Linked DNA regions of Homo sapiens: region 1 is linked to region 2. Evidence: promoter capture Hi-C in human tissues and cell types (Jung and others, 2019). All regions are on one chromosome and are shown on one strand. Each heading gives the region's core, a stretch centred on a gene start or on the middle of the fragment in contact. The rest is flanking DNA. Distances are from core to core; before and after follow the strand shown.

The links. Contacts are between HindIII fragments. The study calls those that stand out against the background at their distance.
Region 1: a contact is called between a fragment that was not itself captured here and the fragment with the promoter of SLC25A13 in region 2, in 1 of the 25 tissues and cell types used here (lymphoblastoid cells).

Annotation. Positions count from the first base shown.
Region 1 is chr7:97,101,920-97,107,070 of GRCh38, reverse strand. No RefSeq gene overlaps it. Among named protein-coding and RNA genes, the nearest start is that of SDHAF3, 13 kb to the left of the region's middle. The HindIII fragment of the contact is 9,050 bases long and covers 1-5,151 here.
Region 2 is chr7:96,320,759-96,325,661 of GRCh38, reverse strand. It overlaps SLC25A13 (solute carrier family 25 member 13), which reads left to right and starts at 3,564. Exons shown (of 18, transcript NM_014251.3): 1 at 3,564-3,720. The coding sequence starts at 3,706. RefSeq lists a silencer at 3,429-3,768. The HindIII fragment of the contact is 12,396 bases long and covers 1-4,903 here.

The sequences.
Region 1 (5,151 bases), core at 1,324-3,823, 780 kb before region 2:
ACTCAACTGTCTGCACTTGAGCCAAAGAAGACAGCAAGAGATTTCCAGGAGTTCATAACACATAGAGGCAGGCAGAGCTGTGGGAGCATGGGCATGAGACTATGAAGGACATTGGATTTAAGGACTGACCGGATATGAGGAAATGGAAAAAAAGCTGAATCTAAGAGGTTTTCATGTTTTCCTTTGTGGATGTATAATTGAAGACAGAAAGTCCGGAGAGAAAACTGCTTGTGGAAATGCATTTTATTTTAATCACACTGAGTTTGAATGGGGCAGCCTACCCTACATGATGCATTGAAAATTTACCTAATAGTGTCAGTGCAGTTCCTTTAATCGTCTAAGTCAGTGGCTCTCAACATCTGCTGTATATTACATTCACCTGTGAAACTGGTAAAAAAAAAAAATAATAAAATACTGTTTCTTAGGCCTCATTCTAAACTGCTTGAATGAGGCCTCAATTCAAACCTCCAAGGGTGGGCTGAGACATTGATATTGCTTAGAAGCTCCAGGCAAAGTGATTCTAATGTGCAGCCAGGATTCAGAACCAGTGATCTAAATTCCCATCTTGGAGACATTTGAGTTCTGGGAAAGTACACAAGATATTACGGCACTGTGTTAAAAACTAATTATTAAATGTTCAGCCTTTTCTGTACTAAAGAGTCCTTGCAACAATGGGGGAAAATATTGTTATATAGTTAAGAATATTTTAAACCGTAAAAGTGAAACTTCTCTCTGAGGAGGAGAATGTAAAGTGAAAACAGTAAAAACATAACTTTGAGTTATATCCACATTTATAAAGTAGGGGGAGGTGATTATAATGTCATGATCTGAAGAGCACAGCCCAGAATCTTTCCACATGCCATATCCGCAATACCACATGTTTCTCCAGGAAAATGATTTAACTTTTCCAGATAACTAATGAACATTTGGAATACAGCTTACTTATACAATCATCTCTTGATATATATGGGGAATTGGTTCCAGTGCTTCTCCTCTGCTCCCCAGGTACCAAAATCTGCAGATGCTCAAGTATATGATAAAAAATGGCATAGTTATTTGCAAATAACCTATACACATCCTCCCGTATATCTTAAATAATCTCTAGATTACTTATAATACCTAATACAATATAAATAGTTGTTATACTATATTGTTTAGGGAATAATGACAAAGAAAAGTCTGTATATGTCAGTACAGGTGCAATTGTTTTTCTGAACATTTTTGATCCTGAGTTGGTTAAATCTGTGATGCAGAACGCATGGATATGAAGGGCTGACTGTACAATGTTGGCACTCTTAATAAAGATCCATAAAATCTCCATTATCTATATCTTCTTCCTTCCTACTCTCCTTCAACCCAAACTTTCCACCAGAACTCTTGATTATATCCCAACTCTTCTGAGGAGTGTCTTCATAACCCCTTGTTCTTTCTCTCACAGGCATTTTCAATTATTTTCTTCATGATATTATTTCATTGAGCTCACAAACACTCACGAGAATACTTCAGGTTAAAAGAAAATCTCTCTATTCTGCCTCCCCTTTAAGCGACCATCCTGTTACTCTGCTTTTTTTCATTGACTTGAAAATATACATTCCTATTCCCACTTTCTCCATCTCCATACCCATTCCTCATTTAATCCCCTGCCTCCTCTTTTTTTTGAGACTGAGTCTGGCTTTGTCACCCAGGCTGGAGTGCAGTTGTGTGATATTGGCTCACTGCAACCTCCACCTCCCCAGGTTCAAGCGATTCTCCTGCCTCAGCCTCCCAAGTAGCTGGGATTGCAGGCTAATTTTTGTATTTTTAGTAGAGATGGGGTTTCACCATATTGGCCAGGCTGGTCCAGAACTCCTGACCTCAAGTGATCCACCCGCCTCAGCCTCCCAGTGTTGGGATTACAGGCCTTGAGCCACCACGCCCAGCCCATTTGACCCCTTTTAACCTGGTGTTGGCCTCACTATTCTTCTGAAATCTCTTTCTTCAAAGTCACTAGTCATTTGCTTCTGTTCACACTCCTACCCCCTCCTGACTTCCTAGAAGTCTTTGCATCTTTGCCTTCCACACATTTGTGCTGCCCAGGCGATCCCACCTTCAGGACCCCACTCCCTCTGTCTTCTTAACTGGCTGTAGTTCTTCCAGCCCACAAATGTGAACAAGTGCGAAGGCTCAATCCAAACATGACTCCCTGTCAGCGCTCTTGTCCCGGCCAGCTGTCCCCAGCAATTACTGATGCTCTGCTGCCCCCGCCTGGCCAAGCCCATTCTAACCACTTCAAAGGCCTCACTGGACCCTTATCTGGAAAACCGCCAGCATAGCTTCTCAAAAAGCTGTTCCAAGCCTCATACACACACCTCTGACCTCTCCACAGTTAAGAGTCTTGCTCTCTATATAACCACAGGATAAGTCCAAACTGGGTGTCCTGTCATCCTTTCAGAGTCTCTGTTCCAAGCTAAACTCATCAGTTTTCTCCAAAGACTTTTCTCTCTCCACGCATCTGTGACATCTTTCCTTCTTTTGATACATGTCATTGTCGAGGAATCCTTGTTTTGACGCTACTTTTGTAAATCAGTTGCTTTTTCTCCTTGCCATTGCCCCACCTGCCTAGACTCTGTATCTCTCAGTTGAAGGATTGCAACAGTCTTCTAATTGCATTTCCTTTCTTTAGTTTTTTTTCTACCTCCAATTAATAGGACATAACATATTCAAATTGATCTTTTTAAAACATGGCTTCACTCAGGTGTCTCCCACAGCCCACCATCTTCCAAAGCTTTCCCACTGTCCTCAGAGTACAACCTGTGCCCCCAGGATATAAAGTCACATTGTAATCAAAGGCAACTGGCAGCCACACTATTACTAACTCACTTTTTCATAGCACTGTACTTTCATAGTACATAGCACTCTTAAAATTGAAGGAAAACAATCTAAATAATTCAGACAAAGATATCAACTTCATAAGGCCATTGTCATTTAACCTACAGAAAGCAAAAGTCAGTAAATATATAAACAAATGCAAAAAAATTGACAAGGGACATTATCTCCCTTCTCTCTGTCCTCCTCAAATTAGAATGAATTTACAGTATCTATTCTGTTTTGTTGTTGTTGTTTATTTCAGCAGTTTTGGGGGAACAAATGGTGTTTGGTTGCACAGAAAAGTTCTTTAGTGGTGATTTCTGAGATTTGGCGCACCCATCACCCGAGCAGTGTACACTGTACGCAATGTGTAGTCTTTTATCCCTCACCCTCCTCCCACCCCTCCGCTCAAGTACCCAAAGTCCATTATATCATTCTTATGCCTTTGCATCCTCATAGCTTAGCTCTCACTTATAAGTAAGAACATATGATGTTTGGTTTTCCATTCCTGAGTTACTTCACTTAGATAATGATCACCAACTCCATCCAAGTTGCTGCGAATGCCTTTATTTTGTTCCTTTTTATGGCTGAGTAGTATTCCATGGAATACTATATATTCCATGGAATACTATATATGTTATGTCCTATTAATTGGAGGTAGAAAAAAAACTAAAGAAAGGAAATGCAATTAGAAGACTGTTGCAATCCTTTAACTGAGAGATACAGAGTCTAAGCAGGTGGGGCAATGGCAAGGAGAAAAAGCAACTGATTTACAAAAGAAGTGTCAAAACAAGGATTCCTTGACAATGACATATATCAAGAGAAAGAAATATGTCACAGATACATGGAGAGAGAAAAGTCTTTGGAGAAAACTGATGTCATTTATATATATATATAACATATATATATAAAACATATATATATAAAACATATATATATAAAACATATATATATAACATATATATGTAATATAATACCATGGTGTGTGTGTGTGTGTGTGTGTGTGTGTATGTATATATATATATACACACCACAGTTTCTTTATCCACTCATTGATTGAAGGGCATTTGGGCTGGTTCTATATTTTTGCAATTGCAGATTGCGCTGCTATAAACATGCATGAGCAAGTGTCTTTTTTGGATGATGACTTCTGTTCCTCTGGGTAGATACTCAGTAGTAGGATTGCTGGATCAAGTGGTAGTTCTACTTTTAGTTCTTTAAGGACTCTCCATACTGTTTTCCATAGGGGTTGTACTAGTTCACAGTCCCAACAGCAATGTAAAAGTGCTCCTTTTTACTACATCCATGCCAACATCTATGGCCATTCTTGCAGAAGTAAGGTGGTTTTGCACTGCAGTTTCGATTTGCGTTTCCCTGATCGTTAGTGATGTTGAGCATTTTTTCATGTTTGTTGGCCATTTGTATATCTTCTTTTGAGAATTGTCTATTCATGTCCTTTGCCCACTTTTTGATGGGGTTATTTGTTTTTTTCTTGCTGATTTTTTTGAATTCCTTGTAGATTCTGGATATGAGTCTTTTATCAGATACATAGCTGGCAAAGATACTCTTCCACTCTGTGGGCTGTCTGTTTGCTGATTATTTCTTTTACTGTGCAGAAGCCTTTTAGTTTAATTAGGTACCATCTATTTGTTTTTGTTGCATTTGCTTTTGGTCATGAAGTCTTCGCCTAAGTCAATATCTAGAATTGTTTTTCTGAGGTTATCTTTTAGAATTTTTATGGTTTCAGGTCTTAGATTTAAGTCTTTGATCCATTTTGAGCTGATTTTTGTATAAGGTGAGAGATGAGGATCCAGCTTCCTTCTTCTACATGTGGCTTGCCAATTACCCCAACACCATTTGTTGAATACAGTGTCTTTTCCCCACTTTATGTTTTTGTTTGCTTTGTTAAAGGGCAGTTGTCGGCCGGGTGTGGTGGCTCATGCCTGTAATCCCAGCTTTGGGAGGCCGAGGTGGGCAGATCACGAGGTCAGGAGATCGAGACCATCCCAGCTAACACAGTGAAACCCCGTCTCTATTAAAAATACAAAAAATTAGCTAGGTGTGGTGGCGGGCGCTTGTAGTCCCAGTTACTCGGGAGGCTGAGGCAGGAGAATGGCATGAATCTGGGAGGCGGAGCTTGCAGTGAGCCGAGATCGCACCACTGCACTCCAGCCTTGGCGACAGAGCAAGACCCTGTCTTAAAAAAAAAAAAAATGTCAGTTGTCTATAAGTATTTGGCTTTGTTTCTGGGTTCTGTAGTCTGTTCCATTGGTCTATGTGCCTATTTTTATACCAGTACCTTGC
Region 2 (4,903 bases), core at 2,315-4,814:
GTGGTGTGTGCCTGTGGTCCCAGCGACTTGGGAGGCTGAAATGGGAGGATCAATTGAGCCCCAGAGATCAAGGCTGCAGTGAGCTGAGATCACGCTACTGCACTCCAACCTGGGCAACAGTCTTAAAAATAAATACATAAACAAAATAGGCCAGGCGCAATGACTCATGCCTGTAGCCCCAGCACTTTAGGAAGCTGAGGCAGGAGGATTGCTTGAGCCCAGGAGTCTGAGACCAGCCTGGGCAACATGGCAAAACCCCATCTCTACCAAAAAATATAAATTTAGATGGGTATGGCAGTGCATGCCTGTGGTTCCAACTACTTGGGAGGCTGAGGTGAGAGGATCCTTTGAGCCCAAGAGGAGGAGGTTGCAATGAGCTGAGATCACACCACTGCACTCCAGCCTGGGCAACAGGGTGAGACCCTGTCTCAAGAAATACAAAAACAAAAAATAAAGTAAAATAAATATGTCTTGATACACACACATAAGCACAGCAAGACATGAAAAAATACAGTAGAATGTTAACAATGGCTAACTCTATTGATAGGATTATCAGTGATTTTTTGGCCATTACTATGATTTTCTGAATTTTCAAAAATGTCAAGAAGAAGTATAATGGACTTTTTCTATTAAAAAAATTAATGGAATATTGTTCAACCTTGAAGAGGAAGGAAATTCTGACACATGCTATATAACATGTATGAAGGTTGAAGACATTATGCTACAAAACACAAATACCATATGATTCCATTTATTAGGTACCTAGAGTAGTCAGATTTATAGGAGCAAAGTAGAATGGTGGTTGTCAGGGGGTTGGGAGATGGAGTGGTTGTTTAATGAGTACAGAGTTTCAGCTTTGCAAGATGAAAAGAGTTCTGGAGATTGGCTGCACAACAATGTGAAAGTATTTCACTACTAAACTGTACATTTCAAAATGGTCAAGATGGTACATTTTATGTATATTTTATTACATTAAAAATTTTTTGTTTCATTTACATTATAAAAGGAGAGCTTTAATGATGCCCTTAAAAATAAATACGTGGTACATGATGTAATTTTGTTCTTTACATGAGGTTGTATTTTCTCACCTCCTTTTACACTCCCCTTGTGGCAGCTGGGGCCATCCTCCACAGGAGCTTCAGACTTGTCCCCTTGTCATAATTTTCTCTAACAATTCTCCTGGTTTTCCTTTTGTCTTTTTTTTTTTTTTACTTTTTGCTGATCTTTCTTCTCTGCCTATGAACATGGTCAAGTCTTCTGGGCTTTGTTGAACCTTTTGAGAGTAGGTTAAATAGTTGCTTCTTTCTGTAATGCTTCTTTCTTAAGCTTCTACAACATAATTTGTATGTTGGACATACATTCTCCTTACAGACAGACTCACACACCTCAAAACACTCCTCTTGAATTACCAATCTCAGGTGTTTTTCCAGACACCCATACCACAAGTCTATGTGCAATATGGCACAACTCCCTTTTTCCGTCCCAACCCCACTAATTTTACCTTCTATGTATTCCTCTAGTCCTAGCCCATCCCCAGCCTGTCTCGTCTGGACATCCTGGTAGTTCAGTTGGAACCCATCCTCCATACTGCAAGCAGTGTTTTAGTCCATTTTGTGTTGCTGTAAGGGAATTCCTGAGACTAGAAGAACAGGACGGAAATGTATTTCTCACAGTTCTAGACGCTAGGAAGTCCAAGATCAAAGTGCTGGCAGGTTACGGCCTGGTTTCTCTGCTTCCAAGATGGCTCTTTGAATGCTGTGTCCTTCAAAGGTGAGGAATGCTATGTTCTTATATGGCAAAAGAGCAGAAGAGCAAGAGAGAGTGAACCCACTCCCCAAACCTCTTTTTATGGCAGCATTAATCCATTTATGAGGGCAGAGCCCTTGTGATGAAAATACCTCCCCAAGGACCCAACCTTCCAACACTGATGCATTAGAGATTGTATCCAACACATCAATTTTGGGGGGCACATTCAGACCATAGAGAGATCTTTCTATATCGAAAACCTAGTCATGCTGCTTCCTGACTTAAAACCCTTCAGTTAAGGTGCATACCCTTCAGCAAGGCGCCTAAGACCCACCATGACACAGCCCCTACCTGCTGGGCCAGACTCCTTCCACTAGTCGTGCCACTGCCCCAATCCCATAGCTCAAGATCAAGTTACCTTTTGATATGGTTTGACCGTGTCACTACCCAAATCTCATCTTAAATTGTAGTTCCCATAATCCCCACATGTCATGGGAAGGACCCGGTGAGAGACAACGGAATCATGGGGGCGGTTACTCCCATGCTGTTCTTGTGATAGTGAGTTCTTATGAGATCTGATGGTTTTACAAGGGGCTTTCCCCCCTTTGCTTGGCACTCATTCTCTCTCCTGCAACCCTGTAAAGAGGTGCCTTCCACCACAACTGTAAGTTTCCTGAGGTCTCCCAAACCATGCGAAACTGAGTCAATTAAATCTTTTGGTTTATAAATTACCCAGTCTCAGGTATTTCTTCATAGTGGCATGAGAATTCTCAGTATTCTTATTGAGCCCTGGGAACAGTCTGCTGCCTTAACAGGTTATACTGAAGTAAACATTTATGTGTCTCTTTCCCAATAGCCCTGAAGCTGTTTAACGGTTGGAACCAGTTCTTAAGTCATTTCGGGGTTTCCAGCACCAAGCACAGTGCCTAGCACATAGTAGGAAGGCACTCAATCAACGTTAATGAATTAAACTGATTAGTAATAAGTGCTTTTTGCTGCCATATTACATCCACAACCTACAATACATTAAAAGTCCTTTTCCCTGATCACCACTGTCTTATAAATTTTGATTACAAGGACAGAAGAATGAAATCCTGATGAAGAGGAGTAAGGCCTGGAGGTCATATAAGCAAATTTTCATTAAAATGCTTGTTTATTTATTTTAGTAGGGCCTATTTGGGGGAAGTCTTTTGACCCGGGCCTTTTGACTTCTACCGTTTTAACAGGTAGGGCTGAAATGGAGTAGTTTCATGAATATACGTTCTGCACTACATTCACTTGTTGGGTTCTTAAGAGTTCACCGATTTTGATCTAAAAGTAGGCGTGCCAGCAATATTTGCAATCTCGCCTTCTAAGTCAATGCTTTTGGATCAAAGTCTTTTTGGATCCAGTGTAAAGTGGAGCTCCTTCAAAGGGAACGCACAGGGGAAAAAATATCCAGCAAAGTATGTGTCCTAGTGGAGTTCTCAACTTCCCCAGGCCGTGCACCATCTGTCGTTACTTGCCCCTCCCATCGGTCCGAGGGCCCAGTAGCCCCTGGTATCAGCAGAAGCCAGCAGCTTCCCTGGTGGGGCCACCTGCCCTCAGGTGACGGGCTTGCACACGGCCAAGTTACCTCTGCCCACGCCGCAGAGGCCGCCGCTGCTGGACAGCGCAGCGGGGTCACGTGTCCCTGTCCAGCCACTGCCCCAGGATCTGAGCCCTCCCCGGCTGCAGGGCAGAGGCCGCTGGATCACGCGCACCCCGGCGGCCAAGGCTGGGCCCAGCCAATGGGCGGGCAGCATCCACATGACCCGCGCCGGCGGGAGGGCGTGGGGAGGCAGGCCAGGAACGCACGCTGCCTGGCCGTATCGCCGCCCCCACCGCCGCCGCCGCCGGGACTAGAAGTGAGCCGCCCGGGTCCCAAACGCCAGCCAGCCAGTCAGTGGGTCCCGCAGTCGCCCGCAACCGGGGCGAATCATGGCGGCCGCCAAGGTAACCGCGGGCCCGAGGCCGGGGGGAGCGCGCCTGCCGGATCAGCCTGGGGGTGCGAGAGGCTCGGGCGCTCACGTGTCTGGGTTGGTGCCACAGGCGGAGCAAAATGGGGTGCCGGGCAGCCGTTCCACCTTGCGGCTGCTGGAGGGAGGGGGCCACTCCTCCCGGGCAGCACAGGCGGTCGGTGCAGAGACCGAGGCCCGACCTCGCAGCGGAAACTTTGTGGGCCGGACACTCCCACTTGGCCGGGGAGGGAAGTTGGTGCCTGACGGGGCTGAGCCAGGGCCGACGAGGAGGAGCGGGCGCGACTGGGGCCTGGTGCACCCTGGGCCGGCAAGCGCTGGGGGTCCTCTCTACCTTCCCAGCGCGCTCCTGCTCCTGACCCCGCTGGTTGTTGACTCCGGCTTCTTCCAGGGGCCAGAGCCCGGGCTGAAGCCTGATCCTATTACGTTTCAAGGGCTCCGCCCTCCCGCGGGTGGGGAAGTTACTTTGACTTCCGTTTTGGAAACTGCCTAGGAGACTTGGTCTGCGCCTTTGTGAATAAAAAGTCCAGGGACTCTCCCCCTCCCCGCTTTCCCATCATTCCCATCTTCCCCCTCCCTCTCTCCATCTGACAACACTTAGATACCCGCCTCGGAGCATTTGAGAGGCTTCTTTTTGGGAACGATGAAACAGATTGTCCTGGGAGCCTGTCACTCCTGTGAAGTTGTACTTGAAAGGGGTTCTGTGTAATGTGAATCATTCACTAACCCAGAGGAAAGGCAACTCCAACACTTGACCTTTCCTCTTTCACCATTTCTTGAAACCTGGACACCATTTCAGTCTCTTTGGACTGCATTTCAACTTCTCTGGCAGAATACCATATTTAGTCCCAATCACTTGAATCATTTGGAATTTATTGCTTTTAATTTAAGTTCACGAAGGCAGCCCTCTAATCAAGCCTATACAACTTCTTAGCTCATTTTAAGTGCAGTGAACTTAAATATACCTAACATTTCAAACATTTGTCCTTAATCAAAACTCTGTGATAACCCTCAAGAGGAAAACATGGCCAACACATCATATTCCTATTTATTCAAGCAAACTAATCACATTTGCAATGGAAATTGTAAGCAGACAAATATATTTAAATGCTGTTCTATGACTTAAGTCTCTCCAGGCTCCCCAAATCCGTAGGCTTCTT